Regions from separate parts of the Homo sapiens genome. Here regions 2 and 3 are each linked to region 1. Evidence: promoter capture Hi-C in 16 types of primary human blood cells and fetal thymus (Javierre and others, 2016). All regions are on one chromosome and are shown on one strand. The core of a region is centred on a gene start or on the middle of the fragment in contact, and the rest is flanking DNA. Distances in the headings are between cores, read along the strand shown. Region 1 holds the start of PRKDC (protein kinase, DNA-activated, catalytic subunit). Region 2 has its middle 69 kb from the start of LINC00293. Region 3 holds the start of LOC105375814 (a long non-coding RNA gene).

The links. Contacts are between HindIII fragments. The CHiCAGO score rates a contact against its expected background, and 5 or more counts as called.
Region 2: a contact is called between a fragment that was not itself captured here and the fragment with the promoter of PRKDC in region 1, in 1 of 17 cell types (naive B cells). The highest score is 10.4, in naive B cells.
Region 3: a contact is called between a fragment that was not itself captured here and the fragment with the promoter of PRKDC in region 1, in 2 of 17 cell types (total B cells and monocytes). The highest score is 6.4, in total B cells.

Annotation. Positions count from the first base shown.
Region 1 is chr8:47,958,354-47,962,090 of GRCh38, forward strand. It overlaps PRKDC (protein kinase, DNA-activated, catalytic subunit), which reads right to left and starts at 1,783. Exons shown (of 86, transcript NM_006904.7): 1 at 1,620-1,783. The coding sequence starts at 1,773. It overlaps MCM4 (minichromosome maintenance complex component 4), which reads left to right and starts at 2,588. Exons shown (of 17, transcript NM_182746.3): 1 at 2,588-2,661; 2 at 2,778-2,861; 3 at 3,163-3,327; 4 at 3,700-3,737. The coding sequence starts at 2,792. RefSeq lists an enhancer at 1,252-1,411 and silencers at 1,592-1,641, 1,652-1,951, 2,622-3,021. The HindIII fragment of the contact is 8,899 bases long and covers 117-3,737 here.
Region 2 is chr8:46,908,008-46,911,744 of GRCh38, forward strand. No RefSeq gene overlaps it. Among named protein-coding and RNA genes, the nearest start is that of LINC00293, 69 kb to the left of the region's middle. The HindIII fragment of the contact is 1,756 bases long and covers 960-2,715 here.
Region 3 is chr8:46,951,086-46,954,822 of GRCh38, forward strand. LOC105375814 (a long non-coding RNA gene) reads right to left here and starts at 799. Exons shown (of 3, transcript NR_188092.1): 1 at 578-799. The HindIII fragment of the contact is 7,979 bases long and covers 1-3,737 here.

The sequences.
Region 1 (3,737 bases), core at 533-3,032:
CCCTGTCTGGTACTTTGGTTCTAGCTTGGTGAGACCTGTGTGGGATTCTGACTCACAGAATCCCCCTTACAGTGGGAACTGTAAGAGTAACAGACCTGTGCTGTTTTAAACCACTAAGCTTGTGGTAATTGTTACAGCAGCAATAAGGAACTAATACACTTCCCCTGGAATCTCTCAAGTGAAAGGAGATATGGCATAAATGGAAGGTAAACTTGGAAGTGCTTTAGAAACAAGTTACTAAACGAACAAAAATGAATTCTAAATTTGAAACCCTGAGAAGAGAAAGTAATCACGCAATGTTAGTTTTTTGTTTGATATTTCCCCATTGTTAATATATTCTTGACAACAGATAGAGTACATATAGGATACATGTATATAGCATCTTTTTTTTTTTTTTTTTGGGACGGAGTCGTGCTCTGTTGCCCAGGCTGGAGTGCAGTGGCACAATCTCGGCTCACTGCAATCTCCTTCTCCTGGGTTCAAGACATTCTCCTGTCTCAGCCTCCCGAATAGCTGGGACTACAGGCGCTCGCCACCATGCCCAGTTAATTTTTGTATTTTTAGTAGAGACAAGGTTTCACCATACTGGTCAGGTTGGTCTCCATCTCCTGACCTCAGGTGATCCAGCTGCCACAGCCTCCCAAAGTGCTGGGATTACAGGCATGAGCCACCGCACCGTGCCACATATAGCATCTAGTTTAAACTGTTTAAGTTATTCCTACACCATATTCACTACTAGACCCTCCGGAAGAAAATCTCACCTTTTAATAGGGCACAACATCAAGGTCTGCATACTCGTGTTTTAAAGAAGGAATACAGGAGATCCACATAATTAAGTATTTGAATATTTAAAATGCTAAAAAGAGGCACTTTTACTACAAAGGGGAAAAAGTTCCCACCCAGGCATTGCTAAAGAGTTAAAAGAACATGACTTCAATTACATTTCTTCAATTTTTCTCAAAGTAGGAACGGCAAATAGAGGGGTTTGGAAAAGGTACTGGTGGGATTAGGCGAGATTCAGGTGAAAGAAAATACTTTCTCTTGGCCGGGCCCGGTGGCTCACGTCTGTAATCCCAGCACTTTGGGAGGCCGAGGCGGGGGGATCACGAGGTCAGGAGTTCGAGACCAGCCTGACCAACATGGTGAAACCCCATCTCTACTAAAAATACAAAAAAATTAGCCGGGCGTGGTGGCGCGCGCCTGTAATCCCAGCTACTCGGGGGGCTGAGGCAGGAGAATAGCTTGAACCCGGGAGGCGGAGGTTGCAGTGAGCCGAGATCGCGCCACTTCACTCCAGCCTGGGCGACAGAGCGAGACTCCGTCTCAAAAAAAAAAAAAATTATTTCTCTTGCCCTGCCCCCCACTCTGCATAGCAATGATTGCCATATTAGGGGTCGTTTTCACCAACTTTGGCTTTAAAATATCTTTCCTCTAATACTAGGGGGTAAAAAGCAGTATGACAAATCCCTTTATACACATACACAGAAATTCCCCCAAGAATCTAATTGCTGTACTTCAAAATACCGTCATCTAAACACAGAGAAGCGCCGGGCTGCCCGGCTCCAGAACGACTCGGGAAGCCAGGACCCACCCGCGGCCCAGCTCGGGCCGGTACCCACCCAGCACCGCGGGGCTGCTGCTCAGGACGCATTCCTGCCCCAGGCCGCGGATCAGTTGATGACCGGCCAGGGCAGCACCGCAGCGGTCCGCAGCGGACAAGGTCTCCTGCAGCCGCAGCAGGGAGCAACGCACACCGGCTCCGGAGCCCGCCATGCCGCCGAGTCCCGCTCCCGCGCGTGCGCCCGCTCGGCCCGGACCCGGAAATGCCCCTACGCGCGGAGGCGGGGCTGCGGGGCGCGGCGGCAGGAACTTTCCCGGGGACCCCTGCGGGAAGGCCTGGCCAGTAAGCGCGCCTCTTTGGCCCGAATCAACATGGAAACCTAAGGAAAAACGTCTGACCTGCGGAGGTAGTTTGGGTGGCTACTTGGTGTTGGACTTGGCTAAATAAATACCAGAGGCAGATAAAACAAGCGAGGGGCCTAGGTCAAGAGTTCCAAGTTTGTTCCTCGATAAAAAACGACAAACGCGGTCGGGGGCGGTGATGCCCGCCTGCAGTCCCAACACTTTAGGAAGCTGAGGCGGGGGGATCGCAGGAGTTCGAGACCAGTCTGGGCAACATAATGAGACCATCCCCACCACCTCCCGTCCTTAATTTTTTTTAATAAAAAAAATCTTTAAGTGAGAAATGCATCTGTAATGTCCTTATTAACCAAAAACGCCTAAGGGATAAAGAAGCACACGCTCCCTAGCCAACGCTAGAGGAACACACCCCGAGAGCTGGTGCTGTAGGACCCAGTTTTCCCGCGAAAACGCTGCCGCGCAGGGGGTCAGACCATCTGGACCAAGGGGGGCCGAGCGAGGCCTACTTCTGGTTTACGCACGGGCGCTGAAAGAAGCGGCACTGTCCCCCCCTGCCGATGCGCAGTGGCGCCTCCCGGAGGCGGAGCCACGTACGAGCGCCGCTGTGATTGGTGAGGCCCCGCCAGGGGCGGAGACGACCTTGCCGCCGGCGGGAACTCTGGGTCTCGCGGTTTGGGAGCGCTACTCGCCAGGTGGACTCGGAGTCCGCGAGCGTCGTCGGCAAGCGGCCGCCTTTCCACGGTAACCGCGCGCCGGCGGGGAGGGCGTGGCGCGGAGCCGACGGGAACGTCCGCGCTGCGGAGCAGGGCAGGGAAGCCGGGAGGCGGGCCCGGCCCGAGCTTGTCCTTGTCGCGCAGGTACTCCGAGCACTATGTCGTCCCCGGCGTCGACCCCGAGCCGCCGCGGCAGCCGGCGTGGAAGGGCCACCCCCGCCCAGACGCGTGAGTCCCCCGAGCCGGGCCCACTACAGCCCCCGGCGCCGCCCCGTCTGCCCTCTCGCCGCAGCTGGCAGCGCTGGGTGGGTGCGCGGGACCCGGGCGCTCAGCCTCGGGCTGGGCGCTGCCGCTTGGTGCGCACAGACACCCACAGCAGGCTGTGGCCTGGGTGCTGCTTAATTCGATTGCCATTTGCCTCTGTTTGGTTTGGTTCAGTGGTGAGTCATAATGCCCCAAGGAAAAGACAAATCCAGGAAGGCCGGCCCTGAAAGTTAATGGCTGTCTTTTCTGTTTTGTGTGACACAAGCTCGGAGTGAGGATGCCAGGTCATCTCCCTCTCAGAGACGTAGAGGCGAGGATTCCACCTCCACGGGGGAGTTGCAGCCGATGCCAACCTCGCCTGGAGTGGACCTGCAGAGCCCTGCTGCGCAGGACGTGCTGTTTTCCAGCCCTCCCCAAATGCATTCTTCAGGTGCGTGTCTGAAGATCTTGGTTTTGCTGTGCTTGATACACAGCTGATGCTTTATCTGCTCAGGTTTACTGGCTTTATAACAGTTGGCATAACGCCTAAAGCATCCCCTCTGCACGTGACTGAGCATGTTCTTAACCAGAGGAGCTGAACGGAGTGCAGAAAATAGTAGTTTTAGGGCTTAGTGAGCAGAGGAAGCAGCTTCTCTGGTGCTTTTTTTTAATAGAACATTTAAGAGTGCTCAGAATCTCAGCCACCGCAGGTTGCAATAAATATTCAGTTTGCTGTTGCGATTAGATGGTATAGATCAACAGACAACATGCTGTAATTTCAGGTTTGATATGCCACCAGAATTTCCTAATTTTGTTTTTATAGCTATCCCTCTTGACTTTGATGTTAGTTCACCACTGACA
Region 2 (3,737 bases), core at 588-3,087, 1.1 Mb before region 1:
AGGAAGAGCCAGAGGGAAGGAGGCAGGCCTGTGTTGCAAATGTGGCTGTCTTTATGTGAGAATCAAGGCAGGAGAGGAGAGGGTGGGAGTGAGGAAAACCAGCCTCAGTGCTTCCAAATATCAGTATCTGTTTATATGCAAACACATGCCATGGATCTTGGAGACATTCACTCTGCCTTGTCATTCCTAATTTCCCCTTTCCAGCTAATAACACTGATACACACACATATACAACATACACACATGGTCACACACACATATATAAACACACAGATGTGTGCACACATACACATATACACACACCCACATACACACATACATACATATGCACATATACATACTTATGCATGCACATGTGAACACAAATACATACATGAGCACACATACATATGCGTGCACATAAACACACAAATACTGAGCACAGATTCCATTCAGCAAGCCAACAAACATTTAGTAGTAAATGTGAACTACAAACCAAATGCTGAGAAGAGCTGGAGGAATGCAAAACTGAGTAAAAAAATGATTCCTGCCTGATATAGTTTGGCTGTGTCCACACCCAAGTCTCATCTTGAATTGTAGTTCCCATAATCCCCAAGTGTCATAGGAGGGACATAATTTAATAATAACAGCGGTTACCTCCATGCTATTTTCATGTTAGTGAGTGAGTTCTCGTGAGGTCTAATGGTTTTACAAGGGGCTTCTCCCCCATTCTCTCCGCCCTTCTTGCTGCCGCCATGTGAAGAAGGACACGTTTGCTACCCCTTCTGCCATGATTTAAGTCTCCTGAGGCCTCCCCAGCCCTGCGAAATTGTGAATCCATTAAACCTATTTTCTTTATAAATTACCCAGTCTCAGATATGTCTCTTTATTAGCAGTATGAGAAAGGACTAATACACTGCCCACAACGCTTTTAAAAAGAACTGGAAGATAAATGCACATATGGCACGTACTAAAATGGAAGCTTGGGACAATTTTGGAGACAAGCAGTATGTGTAGAACGGGAGTCAGGAGAACAGCCTCAGCGACTGGCTCACTGCACAGCCTCAGGATGGGCCTTTAGCTTGCTGTGCTGTGCCCTCATCCATAAAGTGCAGATGAAGAAACTTGCCTCAGAAGGAGGCTCAGAGAAACAAACAAACACTACATCTACGGGCTGCAAAAATAAAGGACTATTATTACAAAACCCACAGGGGTATCAGGAAGATGAAATTGAACAGGGCATGACCAAGATAGCCCTGACAGCCAGCTTATGAAGTCCAGCAAAGATGATACACAGGCTGATAGAACACTGTGAAGAAAGCAGGTGGAACACACTGCCGGCCTCAGGGCACCAGCAGGAGGGGTGTGCAGGGCATTAGGAAGCAGCCAGGAGATGGATCTAGAAAGCAGGCTGGGAACAGATAGCCTGGAGACCTGGAGAGCACAGCTGAAAAGCCCACACGTTCCCCTGCAGGTAGTGAAGCCGGTTAGAGAAGGTGGAGCCGGCCCCACTGGCTGGAGTCTGCATTCCACAGAGTCATGTCCCATCCTCCTGATGGTCCCACCTGCAGCCCAGGGATCACTGTCCTCAGTATCTTCATATGTGAAAGAAAGAAAGAAAAGCAGTGTGCTGGGTGACTTGGGGTGTCTTCTGCCTCTCAGTTTTGGCCCCCATTCAGCTGCTCTCAGGAGAGCCTCACAGGCCCGTTTCTCCCCTCCCAGTTGAGAGTGCAAGTCCTGGGTCTTTCTAGGTTCCCCGGCTGTAGGCCTGCATGGAGTAATCATTTAGGAGAGCCAGCTCCCTTGCCCCAGCTCCCTGGATGCTTTCTGGGCTTGGCTCACGCAGAAGATATCCCATGAAGGTGACTGCCTGCAGGAGTATTAGCCAGGACCCCCTGTCCTCCTCAAGAGGAGGGGACAGGCTCTGTTTAATTTTCTACACAGGCCCACCTCTCTTTCAGACTTGAGGCAGGAAAATTATACCTCATTCTCCCCATTCAGGGAGACAGATCAAGGTACAAAGATAAGAAAAATATATATATATTTTCGGAACACTATATTTTCATTAATTTTTTTAAAAAAATGTGCAATCTTGAAGACATAGAAAAAGGCGTATGAATATTGTCATAAGTGTGTGTGCCTACACACAGAGCTCAGGACACAAAACGCCGCATTTCAGGAAAAGCCTGCACACCAGCCTTAGCCTCCCTGCTGCCGGGATCCTCCCCAGGCCTGTGTGTGTATCATGTGACCTACTGTGCTCTTTCCCAGAATTTTAACCTTAAGAAATGATGTGACACTGGTGCTGTCCTCCTGTTATTTCCTTTTTCATTCCATAATGTTTTGACATTCATCTGTGTGGACATATAATTAATTATTTCTCACTGTCTTAAAATTTTCCACTGAATAATCTGCCACATTCTATTAATTAAGGTTACTGGACATTTAAGTTGAATTATCATACACTGCTGATTGGAGTACAAAAGGGTTCAGCCACTTTAAGGAGCAACTGGGCAATACTAATGCTGAAGTGACTTAACCCAGGGGTGTCCAATTTTTTGGCTTCCCTGGGCCACATTGGAAGAAAAAGGATTGTCTTGGGCCGCACACAAAATACACTAACACTAACAATAACTGATGAGATAAAAAACTCATAATGCTTTAAGAAAATTTACAAATTTGTGTTGGGTCATATTCAAAGCCATCCTGGGCTGCATGTGGCCTGCAGGTTGGACAAGCTTGACTTAACCTATGGCCACCACTTTTACTCCAAAGTATGTATCTGAAAGAAAGCTTACACATATACCAGCCCTTTGTACCATAAAATTATCTTTCCATGCAGTCTTCTATTTAATTTACTCACACTAACATGTTTTATTCCTATTTTATAGATGAGAAAACTAGGGCCAAGGGAGGCTAAGGCAATTTCCTGGCTCACATTGCCAGTGTGTGACAGAGCTAGGGTTTGGGGACATCTCCTGTTCTCAGGGAGTCCCCACTGCCCCACCCCAGCCTGGCCACCTCCAACCACAGAGGCAGCCTGTGTGTGCTCATGGCTCACCACCCTAAAAAGGGGAAAGAGGTCTCTCATCAGGAAGGAGAAACTCCAGTGTGGCTGCTCCAGCTGGTGCCACCAGTGCTGGTGACGTTGCCTGCAGTTGCCCAACACTGGGGAACAAGACAGTTTTTATCCAGGTGTCCTGACAAGCCTATGGACACATTCTGAAAATGCACAAGTGGCATATGAAGCCTTCCTCTCACTTGATGCCCAGCACCTGTCACCTACAGTTGAGCTGTGGCTGAACCCCATGAGAGTCTCAACAAGGCTGCCCTGAGGCCTGCCCCAAATGATGTTTCTTAACACTTTTTAGAAAGAAGGAAACTGAGCCTCACAGAGGCAGAATCTGCATGCCCAGCTCCAAGCCTGAGGTTGCCATGGAGAGTAGAAATAATCCCAGTAGTAATGGATTGCTGAATGCTGACCAAGTGTTCCCTGCCTGGCAGCACCCACTGTGCCGACTGTATGGCCCCCTCTTGGCCTTACAGTTTCAGGGGCCTCTGCTACCTCCTAGGAGGTAGTATGCTGACAGAGGAGGCTCTGGAACCTCCAGGCAGACTGTTTAGTGGTTCTTGAGGGAGAGCCAAGCACTGACAGGCTAATCCCCAGTTAAAACCTACCCACACTCCTGGGGGTGAATTCATCTGCATGAAGAGCAATCCTCAGAGACACTATAATTATGCAATTGTGTGTGCTGGGA
Region 3 (3,737 bases), core at 599-3,098, 1.0 Mb before region 1:
GAATTGTTTTTCATATTTGCTTCTAAATGCATATTTCAGACAGCAGTCCTGGGACTCCTGGAAAGTCCTCTACTGAGAAAGAGCACAGATTTGCAGACCTTTGGGAACTTCTGCTCCATTCTCTAGGATTCTGCCTCCTGAGGACAAATGGAGGAGTAGAAAGCAGCCAGAGCCTCTCACAGGTCAGCACTGCTCTCCAGCTCAGCCCTAACTCTTAGGAGAGTTGTGGCCCAGAGCCTCCTGTGACGGAAAGGCTGCTGGTGAGCAACTCTTGAGGGCCTGTTCCCCTCTGGTGTCCTGAATTCTTTAACAAACCAATCTATGGGCCTGAATTCCATGGTATTTGTGATTTTACCACACCTGGGCAAATGGTCTGTAACTTTTGGATAAAAGCCTTTGTCCCCACCTACCTTCTGTGCTGCCCAACCTGTTCTCCTAGACCAATGCTATTCTAATGTCCCCCGAGAGTTCCCATTCCTGAGGTCTCTCCATCCCAAGGATAGATTATGAAAAGAGAAAATAGGAATAGGAAAACAGAAGTTAACCTCTAATGTGGGCAGCCCTTGGGATTCCTTACCAGATTGATGTCTGTGTCTTTTCAAACATGGATAAATATGGATATCACTGAATGCAGAGACATGATAGAAAGATGATCTCAACCTCACTCAAATAAAGAAAGAACCAAAGAAAGCCCCAGGGATTGTTAAAATGCAGAAGAAACCAGCCCAAATTCTCCAGCATCTGTAGCTAGTGGCTTCCCCGGGCAACTGAGCAGAGAATGTGCTCTCTAGACTAGAGTTCCTGACCCGCATCACAAAGATATGGTACAGTCACAAAGGGGTCTTGAGCTTAGGGAGGGGACAAAGGAGGAAGTAACCCCAAGGCCCCCATTATTCTCCCCTCTCTTCTCTGGTCCTTCCTACTTGTCACCCATAACTGTTCTTTCTATCATCTATCTATCTATTCACCCATCCATCTACTCATCATCTATCCATCTATTCACCCATCCACCTACTCATCATCTATCTATTTATCAGCAATTGTCATGTATCATCTGTCTATTATCTATCACCTATTGATCTATCAATCAATTATCTATCATCTATCACTTATTAATCAATTATCTATCAACTGTCTATCACAATCACTGTTTCAATCTATCCTCATCTATCTGGTACCTATTAATTTATATCATCCATCTGTCATCCATCAACTATCATCTGTCATACATTCATCTATTTATCTGTCATTTATTAATTAATCAATCAATCTATTATCTATCACCTATCACCAATTAATCTATGTCTCTCTTATACCTATCTTTCTTATCTATATATCATCTCCCTTAATGCAATTTCCTCTTTACCCCAACTTTACCCCAGATATTCATGAAATTTTCTTTTCTTCCTTAGAGATATGCTTGGACCTCACCATCTCCACAGCTTTTAGAGGTCTGATCACCTCCCAGGAATTATTATTAAATTTCCAGGCATTATTTTTAAAATGTTGACTTTAAAAGTATAATACAAAGACAGAAAATGTAAACATCATCAGCACACAGCATGACGATTTATTAATCACTGACTTACACCAAGAAACCAGCGCTGCATCAAAGCAGATTTCCCAGGATCTGGACGCCACCCTCACGCTCTCTGCCTATCACTCCTTAAGACCACCTCCCTTCTGTGCCCAGTGCATCACTCTATGATTCTCACCAGTGCTGATGACTTTCCCCAGGCACACTGTTTTGCTTCTCCTCTGTACCTACTCCCTTAGCCCTCGCAATATTCCTCACATTACATATGAGGAACCCAGTGAGCAGAGTTCACAGTGACTGCCAAGGTCACACTTCTAGGAACCACAGCAGAGCTAAGACCAACCCAGGGGCTCAGGCTCTGGAATCACATCCTTTAACCACTGGGCTGGGTTGTGTCAAGCATCATGACAGATGGGGGCATGGTTAGAGTGCACAGTGAGATGTGGGTTCACAATACTCTTCTTTTACTTCCTCTCACTTGCAGCAGAGTTCAAGTTGAGAAGATGTAAAAGAAGAGTATTGGGGGGGCCGTGGTGAGGAGGCAGGGCTACAAGAGGGGAAGGAAGGGTCACAGGACACAGCTATTAGGTGCAAAGGCAGATCTGAGCCTAGGGCAGATTAGGGGCCATTATTTATTTGCCATTTCACAGAGGACAGGAGAAATCTGAGGTGAGTAATAGCCCTGTATCCAGCAGGCGCAGCTCAGTGCTCTGCTTGAGGCTGTTGCTAGATGTGTCTGAAGTCAGTCATTGTCTCTGGACTGAGGGGTCAGGTGAAACCTGACTCCTTGGCACTCTGGGGGGCCTGGGTTCCTGACTGCACTCAAGCAGTTCACAGGATGTCTGCCCAGGTCCATGCTGTAGGAGGATCAGGGGAGAACTGAGAAGTGCGTGAGGCTCAAGGTGAGCATGGCAGGGCTAGGGGTGAGTGTGGGCTCCAGGACGGGTGGACTTGTCATGGTGGCCCACGGTTAGCTAGGGGAGGGGATGAGGCTATGGGGCAGGAGGCTTTCCTCTCAGCTCCACCACTCACTGGTTATGAACTGTGGATGGGCAACTTTATCTCTCAGAGTACTGCTTTCTTCATGTCTGAGACTGATTGCATCACTGCCCAAATCAAATTGACATGTGAATTAAATAAGGTAGAATTTTATTTATCTTATAGATGGCACATAAGGGCCATTGATACCTTTCAATTTCTCTTCCCTGTGTTGTCTTTGCTGAACTCTCTTCTCTTTGATACTGATCTAGGGTAAGTATTGATGAGATCTTACTATCTTGCAAAAGAGAGATAAAATGGAAAAATAATGTTTTCTTTGAATGATTTCTTGGTGTTAGGGGTTTCCATCACTCTTGCATAATTAGCAACAAGACCTGACTTAGACATTCAGCATGGAGCAAAGAACCCTGGCAGTACAGCCAGAACCAGCTGCGGGCTGGATGGGTGTATCAGTCAGTGTTCCCTAGAGAAATACTTACATATGATATACATTATATGTTTACAAGTATTATACATTCATATCAATTTATATAACTATGTAATTTATATTAATTAGATATATGACATAATTATATATAACGAGTATTATGGGGGCTAAGTCCTAAGGTCTGCAGTCATCAAGAGACCCAGCAGGTTCCAGTCCAAATGCTGGCAGCTTGAGACCCAGGAAGAACTCATGTTTCAGTTGGAGTGTGAAGGCAGGAGAAAGCTCATGTCCCAGCTCAAAGGCAGTCAGGCAGAAGGAGTTCTGTCTTAATGAGCTTTTGTGTTCTATTCAGGCCTTTGGCTGATTGGATGGGGCCCACCCAAATTAGGGAGGGCTCTCTTCTGTACTTAATCTAAGATTACAATGTTCATCTCATCCAAAAGCACTCACGGAGACCTGCCCAGAGGAATGTTTGCTCAAATCTCTGTGTAGCGCACAGCCAGTCAAGCCGACGCCTGGAATTAACAGATCAATGGTGACTGAAGTTTCAGACTGGCCTCACACCAACCCTGATGAGATTCGGGGTGGAGAGAACTTTGTCAAGTGCTGCTGAAGGATGAATGGGATTAGTAACTAGGCAGCGGGAGATGGAAACCAGAGCACGGGGCTCACGGGGTGGTGGTTGGCTGGCACTGGCTGCGCGGCAGCTGAGGGGGTCCCCCGGAGCACCCGCGGGGTCCTGGTGCACTCAAGCCTCTCCGGAGGCGGCCGTCT